6 separate regions of the Homo sapiens genome follow, and all the other regions are linked to region 1. Evidence: promoter capture Hi-C in 16 types of primary human blood cells and fetal thymus (Javierre and others, 2016). All regions are on one chromosome and are shown on one strand. The core of a region is centred on a gene start or on the middle of the fragment in contact, and the rest is flanking DNA. Distances in the headings are between cores, read along the strand shown.

What was found. Contacts are between HindIII fragments. The CHiCAGO score rates a contact against its expected background, and 5 or more counts as called.
Region 2: a contact is called between a fragment that was not itself captured here and the fragment with the promoter of TLNRD1 in region 1, in 3 of 17 cell types (neutrophils, naive CD8 T cells and total B cells). The highest score is 10.3, in neutrophils.
Region 3: a fragment that was not itself captured here is called in contact with the fragment with the promoter of TLNRD1 in region 1 in 1 of 17 cell types (neutrophils); the score reaches 6.1 in neutrophils.
Region 4: a contact is called between a fragment that was not itself captured here and the fragment with the promoter of TLNRD1 in region 1, in 2 of 17 cell types (neutrophils and total CD8 T cells). The highest score is 8.0, in neutrophils.
Region 5: the fragment with the promoter of STARD5 here is called in contact with the fragment with the promoter of TLNRD1 in region 1 in 7 of 17 cell types (neutrophils, naive CD4 T cells, activated CD4 T cells and 4 more); the score reaches 13.8 in neutrophils.
Region 6: a contact is called between a fragment that was not itself captured here and the fragment with the promoter of TLNRD1 in region 1, in 8 of 17 cell types (total CD8 T cells, total CD4 T cells, activated CD4 T cells and 5 more). The highest score is 7.5, in total CD8 T cells.

What each region holds. Positions count from the first base shown.
Region 1 is chr15:80,998,669-81,002,540 of GRCh38, reverse strand. It overlaps TLNRD1 (talin rod domain containing 1), which reads right to left and starts at 1,618. Exons shown (of 1, transcript NM_022566.3): 1 at 1-1,618. The coding sequence starts at 269. LOC128071545 reads right to left here and starts at 399. Exons shown (of 1, transcript NM_001414893.1): 1 at 262-399. The coding sequence starts at 399. The coding sequence ends at 262. RefSeq lists silencers at 321-450, 801-1,260, 1,301-1,990. The HindIII fragment of the contact is 6,287 bases long and covers 1-3,872 here.
Region 2 is chr15:81,403,139-81,407,010 of GRCh38, reverse strand. The region is part of intron 6 of TMC3-AS1 (TMC3 antisense RNA 1); the gene reads right to left. Among named protein-coding and RNA genes, the nearest start is that of TMC3, 31 kb to the right of the region's middle. The HindIII fragment of the contact is 1,860 bases long and covers 741-2,600 here.
Region 3 is chr15:81,380,313-81,384,184 of GRCh38, reverse strand. All of the region lies in intron 6 of TMC3-AS1 (TMC3 antisense RNA 1), which reads right to left. Among named protein-coding and RNA genes, the nearest start is that of TMC3, 8.0 kb to the right of the region's middle. The HindIII fragment of the contact is 5,991 bases long and covers 1-3,872 here.
Region 4 is chr15:81,340,211-81,344,082 of GRCh38, reverse strand. TMC3 (transmembrane channel like 3) reads left to right here. Exons shown (of 22, transcript NM_001080532.3): 14 at 38-166; 15 at 738-805; 16 at 2,565-2,693. TMC3-AS1 (TMC3 antisense RNA 1) reads right to left here. Exons shown (of 7, transcript NR_120365.1): 3 at 2,375-2,521. Among named protein-coding and RNA genes, the nearest start is that of TMC3-AS1, 18 kb to the right of the region's middle. The HindIII fragment of the contact is 744 bases long and covers 1,710-2,453 here.
Region 5 is chr15:81,322,029-81,325,900 of GRCh38, reverse strand. It overlaps STARD5 (StAR related lipid transfer domain containing 5), which reads left to right and starts at 1,760. Exons shown (of 6, transcript NM_181900.3): 1 at 1,760-1,900; 2 at 2,953-3,002; 3 at 3,361-3,493. The coding sequence starts at 1,802. It overlaps TMC3-AS1 (TMC3 antisense RNA 1), which reads right to left and starts at 1,568. Exons shown (of 7, transcript NR_120365.1): 1 at 1,340-1,568. RefSeq lists a silencer at 1,219-1,268. The HindIII fragment of the contact is 9,334 bases long and covers 1-3,179 here.
Region 6 is chr15:81,289,281-81,293,152 of GRCh38, reverse strand. IL16 (interleukin 16) reads right to left here. Exons shown (of 19, transcript NM_172217.5): 11 at 2,613-2,700; 12 at 116-597. Among named protein-coding and RNA genes, the nearest start is that of STARD5, 33 kb to the left of the region's middle. RefSeq lists an enhancer at 512-641. The HindIII fragment of the contact is 1,760 bases long and covers 804-2,563 here.

The DNA of each region.
Region 1 (3,872 bases), core at 369-2,868:
GAGAGCCCCTTGGTGCGCGCGATGATGGTGTCCCGGCACTGCTCGAAGGACTCGGCGCCGGCACCAGAGGAGGCGGGGCCCTCGAAGAGCACGGGCCGCGCCTCGCTCGACAGCAGCAGCAGGTCAGCCACCAGCTGCATCTTGCCCTTGCAGTGGTCGCAGACGGATACCAGCCTCTTCCGCGGCTGCGAGCTGGCCCCGCCGATGGCGCTCGCAGGAGCCGGAGAAGCCGCCTCGCCAGTGGGCTTCCCGGCGCTGCCGCTAGCCATCGCGCCCGGGGGGCACTGGCATGCCGCTGGGGAGCCCGCTACCACCGCCGCTGCCGCGGCCACTGCCGCCGCCCCGGCGGCCGTCGCGACTCAGCTGGCCAAGGCCGCGGTGCCTTCCCCGCACCATCATGCCATCCACCGCCGCGGGCAGAGGGCACTGGGCTGCGGCGGCGGGAGCCCGGGCGGCGCGGGGTGGGCCCGAGGGCGAGAGAACGCGGAAGGCTCTTCGGGGCAAGGGGAGGGGCTGCAGCTTTCGGCCTCCTAGAGGGCTTGCAGGAACCATGAACCGGGGCAGAGCAAACTCACTGTCCGCGCTCCTCGTCGCCGGGCTGCCAGGAAAGTCCCTTCTGCTGGTTCGCCGCCGCCGCCGCCTTCTTGGGCATGGCCTGGCGCGGCCCTCGGAGCGGGGAGGGCGGGACGGGGAAGCTGGGAGTTGTCCTTCCTTCCTTCCTTTCTTTGAAATCAAAATCCTTTCCTCGGGGAGGAGCGCGGGAGGCAGCTCAGGCGGGCTGTGCTGTCAGCCGCCGCGCTCGAGGCCACCTCGGGCTCGGCGGCGCACGTGGGCTTCAGGCGCCGTGACCCCACCAGGCGGCACTTCCCCGCGACGGCGGCCGGGGCTGGCTCTCTGGGACGCGCGGCCGCCCCGGGCGCATCTCCTGCCTCCAGCTCTTGGGAAGCGGCGCCGGCGGCAGCGGGGCAGAGGGTGTGGCCGGCACTGTCGCGGCCGCGCCGAGTCAGAGTCGGGCGGGAGCCTGCACTGATTGCGCACAGCGGCCGCCCGGATCGCGCTCAAGCTCTCGCCCGCCCGCCACACGCCCGGGCGTGCCGAGCACCACGGCGGCCCCTTCCCGCCTCGCCGGTTCACAGAGCGCGGCCCGGCGCCGCGGCGGCACGCCCTCCCAGACCGCGCGCCCGGCGGCCCGGCGCTGGCTGTCTACGCAAGTCCATCCCTGTCGCCTCGTCTGGGGCCCGCAGCAGCTGAGCTCTCCCGAGGCCCCGGGCCCCGCGCATCGGACGCCCCTGCACGAGTCTCCCTGCCACCGGGCCAACTCAGAAGGTCCCCGCGGCGCTGCGGCAACCGGCCCGGGCCCCGGCTCCTGCCATTTTTGTCAACCGCCAACTTCCGAGCGAGCGGGCAGAAACTGAAAGGAAGGGCGGGGGCCGAAAGGCAGAGGGGAAAACACCCGCTTCCTCTCCGCGCGCGGCTTCACCTCGGAGCGCGGCCGTGGCTGCGCCGCCGCCCGCAGGGGCTGCCGGAGGCTTTTCCTGTTCCCGTCCGCGCCTCGCCCCCGGGCTCGCCGCCGCCGCCGCCTCGGCCGTAACCTCCCTGGAGCCTATAGAAATCTTTTGTGTGGCGTCACCGCCTTTCGTTTAAATCCCGCTTCCTCCTCTCGCCCTTCCTCCCGCCCCCTCCGCCGCTCCCGGATGCTTGCGCGATGCGCTGCTCCTCCCCCGGGAAGCTGGGTGGCTGCGGGGGACGCCGCCGCCCAACGCGGACGCTGCCGGCGTGGGGCCGGTGGTCCTGAACTCCCCCGTGGTCCTGGGCCGAGAGACTGGGGGAGCGGACAGGGGAAGGCCTGCTCCGGCCCGGGGGCTCTGCGCACACCCATGGGAGACCGGGGCGCAGCCGCCCGCGGGCCTTACGTAAGCTCTTAGCCGGACCAGGGGGCTCCACGCTTCCTCCCCGCCAAGAGAGCAAGTCTAAAAGGTGACCTGGCTTCTGGGCTGAAGGGAGGAGGACACTGGATTTCGGCCCCTGGTGATTTGCTGGGGCCGGTGGGTCGTCTCGGTCTGCGCGACTTCGCCCGGTTTTCCAACGCCCCCTGCCCTTTGTTGTGTTTGATCCACTTCCACGATGGGTTTCCGACCAGCAGTGCAGTGTAACGAAAAGAGGAAAAGAGCACTGGATGGGGAGTCCGAAGAGTGGTGCTAGATGCCTGCCCGTTCCTCCCTTGAAATACGCCTTATGCAGTGAGAGCGCGGGTTCTGAAGCAGATTTCCTAGGATCAGCCTTTCTCAAGCCATTTATGAGTTCCATGACATTGTTCAAGTTCTCTTTCCAAGTATCCGTCTTCTCTTCTAGAAATTAGAGATTGTGCACAGGCTGCTTGAGTACTTGGTTCCTAAACAGTAGCTGTTAGAATTATTATGAGCCCTGATCAGCGCACTTTGCCCTCTCATAACGTCTATTTATTCGTCTGTATAATGGAATAATAGTGGCTGCTGTTAAATGAATTAAATACGACGGCGTTTGGAGGGAAACATTACTACTCCAGTTTTACAGATAAGGAAACTGATGATCAGGTGCTTGAAGTGACTTCCGAAGATCAGGAAGACAGCATATGGCAGGGACAGGAACCCACGCCTACGCCCCAGCCTCTTTTTACCGAACCTTGTTCTTCAGGAAGTGGTTAAAACACCTGGGCTACTCCCAGCAAAACGCCAGTCACGCAGTCCTGAAACAGGTCCTCTAAGGTGCCCAGCCCAACACAGGCTGGGCGTGCTGAGCCAACAGAATGTTTGTTCCTCTGTCCCTTCCTAGAACCCCAAGTCACCTTTCTCCAGCCAGTTAAAAACGTTACTTTTAACTAGGATGACGTTTCAATTTATCGGCCATATCCAAGCATTTCTGAGAATGAACTGTGAGACATGCTATTAATAAATTAACCATGAACAGCAGGTTCAAACCTGGATGGATAGTCATCCTACTTATAACTGAAAGTATCCTTAAATATCTTTAGAATCCGGATGAGCCCACTTAGTTTGCAAACCGAGGTCAATAAAACTGACTTGAAATAGGAAGTAATTATGTAGGGTTAATTCCTTTTTTTCTTCTACAAGAGAAAAAAAAAACAGCTGGATAAGTCAAGGTTTTTCCATGGTGACCCAGGGATTGCACCTTAGTCCTTCTTAAGCTCCAAAAACTTATGAGAGGGGGCCGAAAGCGATGGCTCACACCTGTAATCCCAGCACTTTGGGAGGCCAAGGCAGGCGCATCACGAGGTCAGGAGATCAAGACCATCCTGGCTAACACAGTGAAACCCCGTCTCTACTAAAAATGCAAAAAATTAGCCGGGCATGGTGGCGGGCGCCTGTAGTCCCAGCTACTCGGGAGGCTGAGGCAGGAGAATGGCATGAACCCGGGAGGCGGAGCTTGCAGTGAGCGGAGATCGCGCCACTGCACTGCAGCCTGGGCGACAGAGGGAGACTCCGTCTCAAAAAAAAATAAATAAATAAATAAATAAAACTTATGAGAGGGAAGTCAGACTGTTCTGTGCCTAGTTTATTCTTGAGGCTGCTCTAAGATCAGATTTTTTTTCCAAAGCCACGTAGTGCCCCTGGGGGTCCCATTTTCCCTTTCTTCTACATATGCAGTCTGTTTTGTTGTTGATGGAAACCCACCCCGACAATGAGTTGTGTTACACACAGACTGTCCACTCTATTCAGTGAGGTTTGGTTTCATTTTTAAAACTGATAGCATTGTTTTCTCGGCCTTCCCTGCTTCATTTTTCAGATAGGGAAGCTCCTAAACTGATCCTCCCAGGCACTGCCTCCACCTTTCTTTAGGTTCACCTTTACTTTGTCCGATTGTTCAATCACTCC
Region 2 (3,872 bases), core at 421-2,920, 400 kb before region 1:
TTAGGTCTTAGTTTCAGTTTTTGGTTTTAAAAACTTTGATTAAAGAACTGCTTTGATAAACAGAAGCCACCAAGAGCTTCTTCTCATATATGTACTGCAAACATGCATGATCAAATACCAGTGATCTATGTCATCTAATTGCAACACAAAATAGCTCCTTGAACATGCACGATAAAAGCATATTTTTTAAAAAAAAGTTAAAAACATTACACTCATACAAATATAAAGCAAATGTGTGTCAATGAGCTGTTGATTTATTGATGAGGAAACCAGCAACGTGCACAGAATGATTGAAAGAAAAATTAGAGAAAAAAAAGATTACACAGTCTATTAGGAAAGGAATACCAAAATAAATTTGCTAAGTCAGAGATATAACTAGTTAATGTTTTGCATCTCCATTAGACAAAAATCTACAAGTTAACACGTGACTTCAGAGTCTTGGCTTTAATTAACAGAAAGTAGTTAATCAACAAGAGTCCATCTTTTAAAAAATGAAATAATGCTTGATGGGCCTGATAGATGCTGGTCTGGTATATGATATTGAAAGCACGAGCAATCTTCTTTTGCTTTATTTCTACATTTTGGATAATTTTTAAACAATAGCATTTGTTGTAATCTATCATGTGCCATTGCTATGATGTGGTGTCCAACAGTATGATCTGACTAGAATTGCAAAGATTAATTGATTATTTTCCCAGGTACAATACTTATCATTGGTTTTGTGGCTAACCCTGCAAGCTTCTTGGTAGTGGAATAACTTGTAGTTCTTTTTGCTGTGAGAAGTAGAACTCTAAAAGGTGCCTCCCTAGTTTATTTTTTCCATCTTTTCATCCTCCTCCTCCTCCTTTTTCTTTTTTTTTAAACAAACTTTTTATTTTGGAGTAGATTTACATTTACAGAAAAATTAAGGAACTAGTACAGAGAGATCCTGTGTACCCCACACAGTTTCCTCTGTTAGTAACATCTTATATTAATATGGTATATTTGTCACAATTAATGAACCAATATAGATACATTGTCATTAACCAAAGTCCATACTTCATTTAGATTGCTTTAGTTTATACCTAATGTCCTTTTTCTCTCCCAAGATCTTATTCAGGATACCATACTACATTTAATTGTCCTGTTTCCTTCGACTCCTCTTGGCCTTGAAAGTCTCTGAGTTTCCTCGGTTTTGATTACCTTGACACTTTTGAGGAGTGTTGGTCAGGTATTTTTGTAGAATATTCATCAATTTGTATTTGTCTAATGTTTTTCTCATTAGACTGGGATTATGGGGTAGGAGAGGAGGATCACAGGTACAGTGCCATTTTCATGATATCAAGGATACATACCATCAACATGACTGGTCATTGTTGATGTTGACCTTGGTCACCTGGCTGAGGTAGTTTGCCAGTCTTCTCCACTGTAAAGTTACTCTTCTCCCTCTATTTTCCACACTGTACTCTTTGGAAGGAAGTCAGTATATGCAGCCCACACGTAAGGAATGCGAATCATGCTCACTTTTCTTGAATGCAAATTATCTGTATTAGTCAGGGTTCTATAGAGAATCGGAACCAATAGGATGTATGTGTGTGTATATGTGGAGAGAAGGATTTATTATAAGGAATTGGCTCATGCAATTCTGGAGGCCAGGAAGTCAAAAATCTGCAGTGTGGGTTGTCAGGCTCAAGACTCAGGTAAGCCAAGAATATAGATGAAGTCCAAAGGCAGTCCACTGAAGAATTCCTTCCTGCTTGGGGAGGGCAGTCTTTTGGTTTGATTCATGGTTCGACTAATTGGATGAGACCCACCCATATAATGGAGGACAATCTGCTTTACTCAAAGTGCACCCATTTAAATGCTAATCACATCTGAAAACATCCTCCAAGTTAGCACACAAAATTAACCCTCACAGTATCTGCATAAATTATTTGAAATTCTTCTGCACTGGAGATTTGGCTATTCTTCTCCATTTATTTATTTATGCAGTCATTTTGTTTATATCAGTGTAGACCCATCAATATTTATTTTATATATTGGGTTATAATTCAGTACCACTTTGTTTATTTTGTTGCACAGCTTGTTCTGCCTTTGGCCATTGGGAGCTTTCTGTCAGTTCCTGTATCCTTGGCATAGGCCCATCAGTGTCAGTTTTTCTGTGCATTTCCTTATTACTAGCATTGCAAGATGTTTCTCCTCCATCCTTAGAATCATCCATTGCTCCAAGGAGCCCTCATTCCTTCTATCAGAGAATGGTATTAGAAACCAGGATCTGAGTTCTAACTTTACTTGCTACTACTTGGGTGTCATTTATTACCTCTAGTTCCTCTCAGCTGACAAAATAGAGAAATACATGTATACACGTATCTATATAACCCATGTACAGATACATCTATAAATATTCATGTACTATTTATATATTAAGCTAAATATGAGTTTATACAGATGTCTCCCACTCTAATCAATTACCCATGGATTATTCTAGCCTCCTCCCTTTGCTCGTCTGTAACTTCCCACTCCAACAGTGAGGAGCCTGGCTCCCACCCTCCATTACACTTCACTACCTCTTCATTTTTTACACTAAAATACATCAACTTTAGGGTGAAAATTACCAAGCTTATTTTAGAAAAACTCATTTGGCTCACCAAAGAGATGCTATACCTTATTTTTCACAAACCCTTGAAAGATTTCACAATGCCATTTTGAAAAACTTTGTAACAGAACACAATGGGACTGGTGGGTGAATGGATCAATGTTTATCAATACAATCTAATTTTCAGATGCTCATTCTTTTATTTCTTTAGTTCTTCTAAAAGAATGAAGACAACAATGTGACAGCATTTCAGCTGGTGACATCATTTCTCTTGTATCTTCATTTCTCTCAGCATATACAGATCAACCTCTGTCTTCACAGGTGCTCTATTTATTATTTACATCTAGTGTATTTTTCTGATTTGTAGTATATTCATTAAATTTTTAATCACTAACCACCTGCTTCAATGAGTCATTTTTGATATGCTTTCTTGTAAATTGGTATTATAACACTTCACGTCTTATTGTTTTTGTTTTGTTTTGTTTTGTTTTGTTTTGAGACGGAGTTTCTCTCTGTTGCCCAGGCTAGAGTGCAGTGGTGCGATCTTGGCTCACTGCAACCTCTGCCTCCCTGGTTCAAGTGATTCTCCTGCCTCAGCCTCCCCAGTAGCTAGGACTGGGCCACCCACCATGCCCAGCTAATTTTTTTTTTTTTTTTTTTTTTTTTTTTTTTTTTTTAGTAGAGACGAGGTTTCACCATGTTGTCCAGGATGGTCTCGATCTCTTGACCTCGTGATCCACCCCCGCCCCCACCCCCCGTCTCCCAAAGTGCTGGGATTACAGGCATGAGCCACTGCGCCCAGCCAACACTTCACATTTTAAAATCAACTTTACCAAGGTCTCACTTACATATGATAAAATGCATTCATTCGAAGTGTATCGTTTAATGAGTTTTGGCAAGCTACATCCATGGAACTACCAACATAATCAATATAAGAAAATAATTGCTGCATCCCCAAAAGTTCCCAGGGTCATGAGCCTGTTTACAATCAAGCCTTCCCAAGCCCTGATTATTGTCACCATAGATTAGTTTCCACGCAGCAATTTAAGAACAAGAATCACAACTAATAGAATACAAGTGACATTGGAAAATTTTCACAAGACTCTGTTAGCTGAATGACAGCTGAAACAAATTTACCAACGCAGTTCTTGGAGCACATTTACAACTTTTATGATATAATCATTAAAATGCAGTGGAATTTAAAAAGTATAATTAATATTACATTTCAAATTTATAAAACATGTGTAAATAGGATTGTTTCATCATTTTTATCTCCAAAACTGCCTAACCATATGTG
Region 3 (3,872 bases), core at 736-3,235, 380 kb before region 1:
ATTTATGTAATGAATGAGTGAAATAATAAACTCAGAGGCCCTCACAAGCAGAGAGAGGAAGGGGAAAGAAAGTGCTGTGGATATGGGAATTCCACCCACCAGAAATGGAGAATATTATATTTACTATTTTTAAATGATTAGAGGCAAATCTGCACCAATTCTAGAAACTAGAAAAAAAAAAGAGCCTGAACTTACTAAATGCTTTGTATTAGTCTGTTCTCATGCTGCTGACAAGGACATACCCAAGACTGGGTAATTTATAAAGAAAAAGGGCCGGGCGCAGTGGCTCACGCCTGAAATCATAGCACTTTGGGAGGCCGAGGTGGGCAGATCACCTGAGGTCGGAGTTTGAGACCAGCCTGCCCAACATGGCCAAACCCTGTCTCTATTAAAAATACAAAAAATTATCTGGGTGTGGTGGCAGGCACCTGTAATCCCAGCTACTTGAGAGGCTGAGGCAGAAGAATAGCTTGAACCCGGGAGGTGGAGGTTGCAGTGAGCCAAGACCGCACCACTGCACTCCAGCCTGGGCAACAAGAGCCAAACTCCATCTAAAAAAAAAAGAAAAAGAAAAAAAGAAAAGAAAAAGAGGTTTAATGGACTGACAGTTCCACATGACTGGGGAGGCCTCACAATCATGGTGGAAGGCAAAAGTCACATTTTACGTGGCGGCAGACAAGAGAGAAAGAGAGCCAAGTGAAAGGGGTTTCCCCTTATAAAACCATCAGATCTCATGAGACTTATTCACTACCACAAGAACAGTATGGGGAAAACTGCCCCCAGGATTCCATTATCTCCCAAAAGGTCCCTCCTACAACATGTGGGAATTATGGGAGCTACAATTCAAGATGAGATTTGGATGGGGACCCAGCCAAACTATATCATGCTTCAAGAAGTTTCCGGGAGACTTGGTAAAATGGAAGGAGATTAAAGAAAGTTCCCTAAGTCAGAACCCTCATCTACAGGGAATTTGTAGCCCATTTAATAGGAAGTATCTAGAGTCCTACCAACACTACTATTTCAGAGGTGCATGGGCTAGACATGAAGATGGTGGGAGAGATAGGGACCGTTTCTTGTTCCACACCCTTTCTTGCTATAGCTTAAAAACATTTAAATGATAAACAAAATGTGGAATATGCCTACAGTGAGATATTATTCAGCCTTAAAAAAGAAGGAATTTCTGACACATACCACAACATGAATGGACCTCGAAGACATTACGCTGAGTGAAATCAGCCAGTCACAAAAACAAATACTGTATGACTCCACCCTCATAGGTACCTAGAGTAATCAGCTTCCTAGAGACAGAAAGAAGAATGGCGGTTGTCAGGGGCTGGTGGGGCAGGGGAAAATGAGGGCTTGTTGTTTAGTGGGTATGGGGGGTTTCTGTTGAGGAAGATGAATAAAGTCCTGAATATGAATACTCGTGATGATTGCCAAACAATGTGCATGTTCTTAATGCCACTGAACTGGACACTTAAAAACGGTAACATGTAAGTTTATGTTATGTGTATTTTGCCACAGTAAAGAAAAAAAATTCAGAATTAGATTGGAGGGGATGTGAAGGATCAAAACAAGAGTGGCCGTTCTAAACAAGAAGTCTCCAGGCATGGGTGTTTTTCACTGATTCTGATTCTCTCTGCTGTGGTGAGATCCTGTCCCTGTTGTGGAAAAGTTCTTGAGAGGGACACTAAGCCACATCGAAGACCTGAGGAAGAGGCCATGCTGAACAAAGGAATACAAGAAGTGGCCGGGCACGGTCGCTCACGCCTGTAATCCCAGCACTTTGGGAGGCCGAGATGGGCAGATCACTTAAGGCCAGGAGTTTGAGACCAGTCTGGCCAACATGGTGAAAATCCGGCTCTACTAAAAATACAAAATTAGCCGGGTGTTATGGTGCACACCTGTAATCCCAGCTACTCTGGAGGCTGAGGTGGGAGAATCGCTTCAACCCGGGAGGAGGCGGTTGCAGTGAGCCAAGATCGCACCACTGCACTCCAGCCTGGGCGACAGAGCAAGACTTTGTGTCAAAATAAACAAAAAACAAACACACAAACAACACACCAAAAACAAAGGAATACAAGAAGAGAACTGCCCTCCTGTATAAGAAAGAAGGAGTCAACAGAACAAACACCAAATTCTTCTTTTTAGAGTGCTCCCAGCCTCACCTTTTTCTCCACTCCCTCAGCCTACAAAGTCATCATGCAGCAGCCTTCACCAGTAAGCATATGAAAGATGAAGTCCCATAGCATTCCTGGGAACAGGGAGGGAAGCCAGAGAACACTCACTCACAGGATGGGGGCGCAAACACAGAAATTCTGCAGCATAAAAAAGGAAATGAATGCAGCATGCCAGAGGTAAAGAAAAACGCAGATTTTAGAAAGGAGCTTTCTACAGAAAGCAAAATGTAAATTTTAGACATTTGCTTCTCTCACTCAGTGAAATAAAATGAAATCATTGTCTCTGAAATAAGGGACGCAAATTAAGAGAAGAAGAAGAGATAGTGACTTTATAAAGGAAACCAGCAGAGTTAAAAAAAATGTAAGTGGAGATTGACATAGTAAAATGAAAACCTGGATTAGCATAATCCCAAGAAAAATGGCAACAGTAATCTAAGCCCCTCAGTAGCTTTAAATAAAAGGCTAAGGTCAAGGGCTATAAAAATAAGAGAACATTAAATAACACTGGAGAAAAGGAAGTATGTCACCATATAAGACATTTCAATGAGCTTCTTTAAGATGCAATTCAGACAGAACAAACTACCAACCTGTAGTAGGTCATCAATGATTTAATCACAATCCACACTTTACCATTTACGCTTTCTGTTCAGGAAGTCAAACAGTCCTGGCAGAGCAGTATAACCATCTACTAATTCAAGAGATAAAATTCGCAGGCAACAGTAGCCATGAAGAGCTTTTTCAGTCAGGGTTCAATTGGAGAAACAGAACCAATATATAGAATTTATAACAGGGATTAGGATCTGCACAATGGTGAGACTGGTTGTGAAATCTCTGTAAAGGTAGTATCTGATACTGGGCTGAATTTGTTCTATATCGCCTGGACTGGGAGTTAGGAAGGAGAGTTGGGTGTGAAATTGAGGAAGTAGAGGACAAGAGGTATTTTCCCATTTCCCCTCAAAAGGATGAAATAGAGCCCACCTCTCTTTCTCACCACCTCCCACCCAAAAGATGCAGAAGACCTACTGGAAAAGTTGGTGGCTTTCACCATGGAGCTGTACACACATCTGGCCCAGGGCTCAGAGGAGCTGAAGGAAGAGATCCAGTGGGAGCTGAGGTTGTGCGAGGCTCAGGATATGGCCCCACCCGCAAGGCAAGGCTAGCAGATGACAGACCTGTGTGAGCTGCCACAGCATCTGGTGCCCTTTACCCACCTCAGAGCACACAAAATGGCAGCTCCTTCTCTTACATCTTCCAAGACTTAGACACACAAGTCTCTTTGTGGCCAGCAACACACAGAGAATGGAATACTAGAAAACACATTTCCAGCTTAGCTATGTTAGCTCAGTAAAAAGCACCCCCAGGAGATATGAAGACTGTTTGTTTGCAATCTCTTTTACCACTCCAGAGCCACAACATTCATTTATGTCTGCTCCAGGAGATTCAATGCAATGCTTCACTATGAAATAGCAAAAGGGTGGTTGGGCTTCTTTCTGATATACAGGGTTCAACCCCATCAGGGAAGCTCACCTCAACAACGAAGCACTCAACCTACTCCCTCATGTTTGCAGTGGAAACCCCCACGCCCTCTCATCCCTCAAAGGCTGCCAGAGGTATCAATAGAAGGGAAGCCAGACAGCCACAGCCACAGCCACACCCGAGAAGCTGCTGGAATGAAAGTGAGGCTAGAAACAA
Region 4 (3,872 bases), core at 832-3,331, 340 kb before region 1:
GGGGCATGGTGGCATCCAGGGACGCCCTGTGTTTCAGGAGATGCTGAAGCTCTCCATCATTGACATGCTCTTCACCGTGGCGAGCATTCTGCTCATAGACTTCTTCCGAGGACTTTTCGTGCGGTACTTAAGTGACTACTGGTGTTGGGATCTGGAGAGCAAGTTTGTAAGTAAAATGCTGTGTCTGTTGGGAAAGTTTATATGGCCAAATCCATCCTTTCTCATGTTGTGGCTGGGAAACAGTCCAGCATAGTTGAGGGGGACACACGGAAAGAGAATACAAGTGGGAAGAGATGGGTGCAGAAAGCTGAGCTTCTACTTCCTTTTTTTTTTTTTTGTCTGTTTTTTGTGTTTTTTGAGACAGGGTCTTGCTCAAGCGATCCTCCTGCCTCAGCCTCCCGAGTAGCTGGGACTATAGGCACATGCCACCATGCCCAGCTAGTTTTAAAAATTTCTTGTAGAGATGAGGTCTCACTATGTTGCCCAGGCTGACCTCGAACTCCTGACTACAAGTGATCCTCCTGCTCAGCCTCCCGAAGTGCTGGGATTACAGGCATAAGCTACAATGCCCAGCCCCACCCCTTTCTTAACATTTACCATTTGCTGGGATGGCCCCACAAGCACTGATCTCTAAGTGTTCATAAGAGCAAAGAAGTCTATATAGGTGTCTGTAATTAATTGGTTCATGCAAAGAACTTTGGAACTTGTTTAATGCACAAGTTTATTTTCTCTTGTAGCCTGAATATGGAGAATTCAAAATAGCTGAGAATGTGCTACATTTAGTCTACAACCAAGGAATGATTTGGTAGGTATCAAAGTTTCTTCTTGCCTTTGCTTACATCTCATCTGGGCTAAGATTTTAATTTACTTAGTCTAGATGGGACACGACCATAACACAGTTACATAAGCATTAAGAAGGGATGTTTCCAAGATTATTATTTCACATGTATATTACTTTTATTAATGGTTTCCTAAGAATTTTGCAGGAAGAAATTAAAAAGAAAATAATCCATGTTTAAGCTACTATTGGTCGCAGCCGAAAAAAATCTGCACAGAAACCAGTAGAATACACTCTTAGGGAGGACTTGGGGAAGGCTGGAAGGAGAGGCTGCTTCTCCCTCGTGAGGACTTCAGGAGTGGCTGCGGGGGACCTTGGCCAGTCTGTCCTCGCTCGCCACCCTCCCTCCATTTCCTCCTAATTTTCACTTAGACACTGGGCCCAGGAGTACAGCCATCCCCTAGACTGCTCCCCACCCTTGGGGAGGCAGGAAGTAGGGAAGTCTGTTCACCCATGGCGCCTCCCAGCCCATGGCATTCCTGTCCTTGGAGACACTGAGGAGCTGATTTTACCTGTTGGACCAGAATAGTGCTATTTGTTAAAACACAAGCAAACAAACGAACAAAAAACAAGAACTTGGGATATTCCATACATCCAGAAAACATTCTCTTCATAATCATTCAGTAAAATACATGGCAATTGAGAGGTACAAAGTAATACGCCTCCTGTCAAATTCTTAGAGCCACTGTATTTTGCAAAATATCTTTACAAATACAGTATTAAAAATAATAGGTGACATTTATTTAATAGTGCTAGATATCAAGTACTTTTCTACCTGTAGTAACTGATTTAATCCTTATAGTAAACCCATGAAGTAACTGCTATTATTTTCCCCTTTTTAAAGATGAGAAAACTGAAGTGCAGAGAAGCTTAGTGTCTTGCCTAACATCCAACAGATAATGATAACTGAACATTTCTTGTTAGAAACATTTTACTTAGGAAACATACTCTTATGTCCATGTTTATTTTCATACCACTAAATCCAAATTCCACAAGTATTAGATTGAATACGTATCCAATATAAACTGATTTAGACTTAAGTCTGAAGACATGGGTTTTGTCGCCTAGCTGCCATTTCTTTTCAGGGTGACCATAAGTCCCAGCTTCCCTGGGATGATCTGGTTCTTGTCTGTGGGCTCAGTTCTTTCATTCCCCAAATCTCCCAGGTTTGGATGATATAGAGTCAGCCTTAGCAACATGTCTTTGGTTTCCCCATATCTGCCCTTGTTGTCTATCAACTGGATATTTACCTCTCCTCTCACTATTGCAGAAGAGTAAACAAACTGAAATGTGTGAGGATGCTTAATGCCATATCCAGCAAAACTAGGTGCCCAAAATATGTTGATTAAACCTGAAAGGCAGTAATTTATTAGCACAGTCCTCATCATAGACAAGCAAAACCAGGAGCTGGCCCCAAATAGTAGTTATCCATTATTTGCCTCCTTCCCAGAGGATTTTCCTTTGCTCAGCTGTGAAAAGAGAGACAAACAGTTGTCCTTTGCAAATATAATATTTTAAAATAGGATCAATACCCACCTTCAGTGACTTGTCTTATCTTTAGAAGGTGGAGGGTTGTGGTCTCGGGACTTCAGGGGCTTTTCCAGTCCTTTAAGCTTAGGGTATAATCCCCAAAGTGTCAGAACCATGTTCCTGCATGGGGCTTCCATAGTCCTGGGAGATAGGCTGAAAGAGAACAGATGCAAACTGACCTTCCTCATGGTTCCAGGATGGGGGCCTTCTTCTCCCCATGTCTCCCAGCGTTCAACGTTCTCAAACTCATTGGGCTCATGTACCTGAGAAGCTGGGCTGTGCTGACCTGCAATGTGCCCCACCAGCAAGTATTTCGAGCCTCAAGGTGAGTAAGAATAAGATCTGATCATGCAGATAACTATATATACATATATATAATCCATGCCTGCCTTACCCAGGGGTCCTCTAGCAAAGGGTCCCCCCAACTCTCTTCCTGTCAAAATCTTGCCTGTCCTCCAATTTTGTCTCCTCCAAGAGCCATTTCCAATGTCTTACTCTTTCAATGAATCATTACTCCTCTTGAACTCATGACACTTTTAAAACGTTTTGCCGAAGTTTAATAATCCTTTAGAAAAAAAGTACACAAATCGTAAATGTTTAGCTTGATTAGTTTTCAAAAACTGAACACAAGGCACTCAGATCAAAAAACAAAACACAAATGGCAACCAGAGCATGCCCACTTGTATGTCATTCCAATCACTGCCAACTTCTAATGGCATAATTAGGCTTGCCTGGGTTTTACTTGATGTAAACGTAATCACACACACACACAGTATGTGCTCCTTTGTGCCCAACTGCTTACACGCAACATTGTGTTTGTGAGATTCAACTCACTGAGAAAATATACCCCAATTTCTTTATCCTGGCTCCTGTTGACGGGCATGTAGGTTGCTTCCAGCTGTTAGCCATAATGAGTAATGCTGCCTTGAACATCCTAAGTATCTTTGTTGCATATATACCTAGGAATGCAATTGCTGGGACACAGGGCATGCATATGTTCACCTTTAGCAAATAGCACCAAAAAGTTTTCTAAAATGAACACCCCATTTTACATGTCTAGCAGCATTATATGAGAGTTCCAAGTGTTTTATAACCTTGCCAACACTTATTCTTTTAACTGTTTTAATTTTACCAACTTTGGTGAATTCATAACACATTCTAAATACTTTGATTCAGTTATTTTACTTTGACATATGGTTATGTGTGTCTATATCAGTGGCTTTCAAACTTTTGCTCATGACCTACTTGACAATGCATTTTATCTGATGACAGTACACATATATTAATACATTCAGAGATATGTTTTGATATATTTATATATGTTATATATGTGTATGTATATTTATTATATGTATGTATGTCTGTGGATAGACAAAGATAAAGAAGTTTCACAACTTATCACTCTCCTACTACATTCTGTGCTCTCTGAAATCTTCTGTTCTCTTTTAGTCAAGTCTTTTTCATGAGAGAGAGAGAGAGAGAGAGAGAGACAGAGACAGAGAGA
Region 5 (3,872 bases), core at 511-3,010, 320 kb before region 1:
AGTATCTTTCCATGTCTAATGCATTCTTTTTGTTTATGGGGTTGTCTGAAAATTGCTTAATGATTTGTATGAGCCCTTGGTTCGATAAGAAAACTTATGTGTTAAAGTGTGTCCCGATTTTTTTCTCATATTATCTAACTTTTTATGAAATTTTGATGTGCTTAATTTTTTAATGGGATTAATTTACTAGTCTTTTCTTTTATGGGTCCTAAGAGTATTTACATGCGTTACTTCCCTCTCTCTTCACAAGGGCATAGGGAACATTTATTTGTTTGTTTGTTTATTTTTATTACTTTTTGAGACAGGATCTTGCTCTGCAGCCCAGGCTGGAGTGCAGTGGCGCGATCACGGTTCACTGCTGCCTCTGCCTCCCGGGTTGAAGCGATCCTCCCACCTCAGCCCCCCCAAGTAGCTGGGATTACAGCCCCGCGCCACCATGCCCGGCTAATTTTTGAATTTTTAGTAGAGACGGAGTCTCGCCATGCTGCTCAGGCTGGTCTCGAACTCCTAGGTTCAAGTGATCTCCTGCCTCAGCCTCCCAAAGTGCTGGGATTACAGGCGTGAGCCACCGGACCCCGCCAGGAACATTTATGATGTATCCCATTTCACCTTGGAGTAAACTGAAGCTCAAAGAATAATGAGTGAAACTGGGTTTAGATCTTGAGCTCCCTAATTCCCCATCCAGGTCTTCTTCACAGCCTGGCTGCCCTTCACATCTTCCAAAAAGGTCTTTCAAGTTGTCAATTTGTTTACACTACTCTTCCAAACATTTATATCGAAAGTTTAAAGGAAACAATAAGTACATAAAAAAGAAAGATAAGAAATAGACCTCAGTATTAACCTTTTCAAATATTTAGTTGGTGATAGCGCAGAAGAGGGGAAACCGAGGCTGTCCTTGCCATTCACGCTGTGAAGATGCGACCCTGGCTCACTCCCCGCAGCTCCAGGGCAGCTGGAAGCAGAGAACTCCCATATCTCTAATAAAGCCGGGCCTCTCGCAGATGTCAGCGCATTGCATTGACTCCTGGACACCTGCACTAAAGGCCCTTCAGGCACCTCCAACTAAATATGCCCAGAACTGAACTCACCCTATCTCTTCTCCATCTCAGGTAAGCTGCCAGGTGGCCAAGGCTGGGAGTCATGATGCTTTCTCCTTCTGAACATCCACAATCGGGGGCAGAGACCTTCACCTTCCATCTCCTAAACACTCTACGATGGGTCCTCTTCTCTTCACCCCCACTCCCCGCACCCCTGCCACACACCTCTCCCACCATTGCACGCGCCCAGTCTCCACGCGCATTTCCTCTCCCACCCTGCAGCAGCCGCCCTAGCATATTACCTCTAATGCAAATCGCACCACTGTCCCGCAGGCTGAAAGCCTCGGTGCACTCAGGACAAGAGTCCACGCTTCTTAAACAAACGGTCGACGTTGTCCGCGACCTGGCCCGGCCCAACGGGTCAGACCGTCATTGGCCATCTCACAGTCCCGGCGCTCCAGAGCCCCTCCCACAGCGGGACATGAAGGAGGCGGATACGGCTGGACCTTACCCGGCCCGCCCAAGGCGTCCGGGACCCGCCCAGGCGCTGACGCTAACTGGAGAGCCTGGCCCCGCGGTCTCCTTGTCCTGCCAATCTCCGGGAGGCGGGATCCGTCTGAGGGCCTGGACCAATTCGGGAGCGGGGGCGCGGAAAGAGGCGGGGCTACGAGCTCCTCCCAGAGCTCCAGCCTCCAGGCACCCGGGATCCAGCGCCGCCGCTCATAACACCCGCGACCCCGCAGCTAAGCGCAGCTCCCGACGCAATGGACCCGGCGCTGGCAGCCCAGATGAGCGAGGCTGTGGCCGAGAAGATGCTCCAGTACCGGCGGGACACAGCAGGCTGGAAGATTTGCCGGGAAGGCGTGAGTGAGGAGCTGGGCGGGAAGGGGTCGCGGAGACGGCTTCGTGGAGCCCGGGTCCCCAGAAGCCCCCAAGCGCCTCCTCTCCCCGTTGTTTTCTGCTCCCCAATCCCCTGGACCCGATTGAGAGGGATTCCAATGGGGATTGTTTTCTTCTTTAAAAAAAAGATTGGGCCTGTTATGCTCACAATGACTTCAGGTGGTAAGTATCTGTTCCTTTCACTCAGTGACTTGCCCAAGGTCACCTGGCTGTTGAATGCTGTTTAGGACTGGATGTTTCTGTGACAGTGGTAAAAGTAAATAAATTGCATTTAAGGGGTAAGCAGGTGTTTAAAAACAAAACAAAATGAAAGAATGTGGTCGCAGCTAAGGAGGTTTTTACATGTTGTTTAAATCCAGTAAAGTCTGATCCAGCATCTGATGCATACTAAGGTTTTCTTCTGTGTTCATTACAGCATGAACCCCTCTCTTTGTCGTTGCCAGAGGGTAGCATGGGAGTAGTTTTGCTTGACCCTTCTGACTTTTCATTACAGCATGAACCCCTCTCTTTGTCGTTGCCAGAGGGTAACATGGGAGTAGTTTTGCTTGACCCTTCTGACTTTTCATTACAGCATGAACCCCTCTCTTTGTCGTTGCCAGAGGGTAGCATGGGAGTAGTTTTGCTTGACCCTTCTGACTTTTCATTACAGCATGAACCCCTCTCTTTGTCGTTGCCAGAGGGTAGCATGGGAGTAGTTTTGCTTGACCCTTCTGACTTTTCATTAAGTAGCCCTGGGTTGCTCAAGGAAACAGAATGCCTGGTGGCTTTTAAGATAATTTTAAAAACCACCCACGGCTCTTGGAGTCAGCCAGTTAAGATCTTTTTCTTCATCACATTCTGCTGTGGGGACAGCTTTGCCCAAGACTAGTCCCAGCTTTTCCACGTATGGGTTGCACAGCCTTGGAGAGTCGTATCTCTTGAGGCCTCTTACCCCTCTTCTGTAGAACAGGGGATTAAGCCAGGTGACCAGAGCCCTTCTAGCTCTAAAATTCTGTGGTTCTGTGCCTTTTGACAGAATGGAGTTTCAGTTTCCTGGAGGCCATCTGTGGAGTTTCCAGGGAACCTGTAAGTGCATGCCTCGTTCAAAGATTACCAGAGGTGCCGCACCCTTCCTGGTATCTTTATGGGCCTGCCTCCTAAAATATTCAAATCAACCCTATAACCTGTGATCACTTGTCCTCCAGAAAAGCCTTACTGTTTTTAATGAAATCATTTCCAGCAAACTGTATTCTTGTGAAAGCTTACTGTCCATTTCTGCAGGCCTGAAGGGAGGCGGGGCTAGTGACTTTCAGCCCCTTCTCTGCAAGTCTGTCCTAAAGAGTAGTGACAGACATGGCATGGTCCACCTTCTAGTCCTTAGATACAATCTCAAGATAACAAGTTTGATTGATGCGTTGGGGTCAAATTCCTTTTCGTGCTCCAGGTACCGAGGAGAAGGCATTGTATATGGGACACTAGAGGAGGTGTGGGACTGTGTGAAGCCAGCTGTTGGAGGCCTACGAGTGAAGTGGGATGAGAATGTGACCGGTTTTGAAATTATCCAAAGCATCACTGACGTAAGTCTTTCCAAGCATGTTATCTCTAGATAGTGTCTGGGCCAGGCTATAGTAACCCCCTCCCATTTCTTCTGGAAGGGGTCCGTGATACCTTTTGTTAAGGGGGTGTGTCCTGCAAGCACAGGCTGCCCACTGCTTGCAGCATTGGAGGCCTGCCTCAGCCCAGTTTCCCGGTGGGAAACCTCATGACTCAGAGAGGGAGAGAAGCCCCAAACAGAGTCTCTGCGGGGAGCATACCTGTTCCTTGTGTGGGGCTGCTGCACTAGGCAACACAGGATCCTCAGCCCCTGGCACCCACTTCCCTGAAGCCTGGGCCAGTAGCAGCTCCACGTACCTGCATGACCCCAGTTACCCTCTGGTATGAGGGTCTTCACGCTTT
Region 6 (3,872 bases), core at 434-2,933, 290 kb before region 1:
GTGGAGCAGGAGAAACTTTCATTCTGGCCCTGCTAACACTAACTTGCTAATTTGCCCATGCTCAAGATTTGAGTCTGGTCCTGGAAACACTCAACCTGTGGACCCATCCTCTTACCTGGCCACAGGTGGGTGGGGTGTGCCCAGAAGAGCATGAGGAGTTCTCTCTCTCTTCCAGACTCTTCTGAGGGTCACTGTCACTTTTAAAGTATTTTCTGGGTGGAGGCTTGGGCTTGGAGGACATAGGCTTTCTCACCAAAATCTCAAAGGATTTCTTCAGTCTCAGCGGCGGGTGGCTGTCCCGGCTCTCTGGGAGGGGTGGGCTCTCCTGGGGCAGCCTGGAGGATGCTATAGAAAGCACCACTGGCTCCCGTGCCAGAGGCAAGCTGGGGCTGTGTGTGCTGATGTCCACGTCAGAGGACGGCTTCTCAGCACTGCCACTCCCAGGACTTCCCCCTGGGGACCCAGACATGTAGCTGCTGTCACTGCTGGAGCGGATCATGACCTTCTGAGCCCTGCGATGCGGGGGTGCTGAGTTCTTCTCTCGTTCCTTCTCCAAGGTGGGCCGCCCGTGCCAACTGCTTTCCAGCCTTTTGACACCTGTGTGGGAAGCACAAGAGAATCTTCACAGCTGAGCTTCAGAAAACAGAAATACCCCCTGGCCTCACCTGTGACTGCCACGGGCAGCACACTGCACATCGGCCATCTGCTTCTTATCTGAAGTCACTGTGGATCTGGAGTATGGCAGTCTTGGTGTTGGTCCCTGGCGAGCTGTATGACTTTGGGTTGGGAAAATCATTCAAGCTTTCTGAGCCTATGACTGATGTATATGGAGATATGCCACCCAGATCACCCATCGAGGAAGGGCTTGGTGTCCCAGCTGTGGGGAGTGCTGCTGGCAGACTACTTTCAGCTGTGGGTCCCTCCAGGGGCTGCCACAGCTGCAGACAGCTGCCTTGTCCAATGGGGCAGCCCATCTCCAGGGACTGCTGGAGATAGGGTTACAGAGGCCCAGCTATGTTGGCCAACATAGGACAACTCTAATGGGGACTTTGGCTGCAGAGCTCCAGGGCTTGGCTGAAGCTGTTGGGTGTGCACCTCAGCTCCGTCCTCCCTCTGTCTACCCTGCCTGCTCCCCTCCCTGCCACAGGTAGTGAACCCCAGGACACTGCCTGCAGACCAAACTCCATCTCAGAGTCAGCTTCCTGGGGGACCCAACTCCATTTCTGCATCTGTAAAATGAGGATGATAATTTTAAAGTCACTGGGGTTATTTTGAGGCTCAATAACAAAGACAGAGAAACTACCTGTCAAGGCACTTTGAATCTTACACGAAGAAGTCACTATTTCTTTCCAGTTGAGGGTGAGGTGAGGGCAGAAAGCCGCTATTTCTTAGCCACTGCACCTTCCTCCCTCCCTCCCCATTAGCCCTTCCTGGTTCTCAGTACCCCCTACCCTAGTTTCCAGCACTAGGGCTACCCACACATCCTTGAGAGGCCCTTCTCTCTAGTGGTAAGCTGTCAAGGGTGCCCCTTTCCTAAAATCACAGCTTGAAGGGGTGGGAGAGGATTGAAATCTAGTCTCTTGCTCAAATTCCAGCTCATTCTGAGAGACCAAGAAAGCCAGAGGAGCCCCATGAGAGAGAACCAAGGCCAGCCAAGCTCCTAACTCACTTTCTCTTTAAATAAAAAGTTTTCTTTTTTTTTTTCCTGATCATGAAATAATGCATCCTCCTTAGAGAAAACTCAGCCACAAGGAGGAAGGAATGAAAGTAAAAATTCACTTCACCTGTGTTCCTATCAGCCAGAAATAACTACTGTCAAAATTTTGGTGAGTTTCTCTGTCATGCTTTCCCGAGCATATATGCATGTTGGGTGGGTAGAAATAATAAACCAGAGCTGAAATAAATTGTGTTCTGTTCTTTTCTCTGAACATTTCCCCAGATCATTTAATTTCTTGTCAATATCAGTGCCAATGGTTGCATGTTGTTCTTTCATAAGGATGTTCCATGGTAGACGTGATTAATGCCCAATGGCTAGGCATGGGAGTCAAGCCAGCTGGATCTCCATTCCAGAGCCTCTGTGCTCTAGTGGTATGACTTTGAGTAAGAGAGTCTCTGAGGGCCTCACTTTTTCTTATAAAATTTGCATAAAAATTATGTGTGAATGCATGAATTAGCATAGTCTCTGATTTATTATAAGAATTATAAGAATTAAATAAATGTCAGAATTATATTCCCAAATGTTAGTTTTTCTAATATTCTATTATTATAAACTAGGGGCTGCAAACTCAAGTGCCTGCAGGGGCTATTGTGTGAATGGCAACTTGGTACAGGATAAAGGGAACGGTGGAGACCACCGGGAGCTGGAGAGAGCCTGGCACATTTGTAGCAATTTAAATTCAGATGCTTTTAAAATCTTGTGTCTTCCAAACAAAGCAAAAATATAAGCTAAATTTAGCTGGTGGGCTGCTAGTTTTCAGCCTTTGTCTACATACTATGCTGGTCTATGGTAAATGCTGTTACTATTCCTTGGATAGAGGATGAGTTAATGGATAAATCCTAAGCTTTCTAAGAAGGCAAAGATATTTTACATCAAAGTTCACCATTTGTCTTACCTTCCAGACTCCACTGATGCCTCTCCTTTCCAAACTTGGTGTTTTCCACAGCCTGGGCCACAGCTTCTTTGAGTTGCTGTTCAGAGACCTAGAAAATATCAGTCATCTCCTCAAACAAACAGTAGAAGCTCCTGCATCAGGCTCCCAGCCCCGTACCAGCTCCAAAGCTGGGCCACTGGATTCTAAATTATTTTATTTCAACCCACTCTGCAAATAGCTGATGAATTCCATTTCCAGAAATACCCCGGGAATCAATGGTTCCTCAGTATCTTCTAGATAAAGTCCAAAGTCTATCAATGCAGGGGTTCCCAAGGAGGCCCCCTCAACTCTCCAACCTTCTCCCCACTACTTGCTGGAAAATTCTAGGCAAAGTTACCACTTCATAGGTTATCTCTATGAGCTAGTCCGTTCTTGGCAATGCTGTCATGACATCATCATTATCAACAATATCGTAATAATCACAATCACTATTATACTGTCTGAGCTGTGACTCACAGTTTATTATCACTTTGGAGTAATAGTTAAGAGTATGAGTCCTAGAGTCAAAAAGGCTTGTGTTCTAGTCCCGGTTCCTCTACTGTCTAGGTGTGAACACCTAGACAAGTTACTTAACCTCCTGAGCCTCCATTTCTTCCTTCTGTAAAATAATAACAATAATAAAACCCACTTCAAAATGAGGACAGGTTTTTTAAAAATAAATTATTTGACATCAAAAGTACAGGAAACAAAAAAATAGATAAATTGGACTATGTGAAAATCAAAAACTTCTGTGCATCAAAAGGACATCATCAACAGATTGAAAAGGCAACTCATAGAATTGGAGAAAATATTCGCAAATCATATTTCAGATAAATAGTTGAGTTGCAGATTATATAAAGAACTCCTACAACTCAGCAACAACAACAACAACAAAACAACCTGATTAAAAACTGGGCACAGAACCTGAATAGACATTTCTTCAAAGAAGATATACAAACAGCCAAAAAGCAAATGAAAAAATGCTCAACATCACTAATGATTAGGTAAATGCAAATCACAACCACACTGAGTTACCACCTCACACACATTAGGACATTAGGATGGCTACTATAAACAAAAAGAAAAGAGGCTGGGCATGGTAGCTCATGCTTCTAATCCCAGCACTCTGGGAGGCTGAGGCAGGCAGATCACTTGAGGTCAGGAGTTCGAGACCAGGCTGACCAACATGGTGAAAGCCCATCGCTACTAAAAATACAAAAATTAGCCTGTGCAGTGGTACAC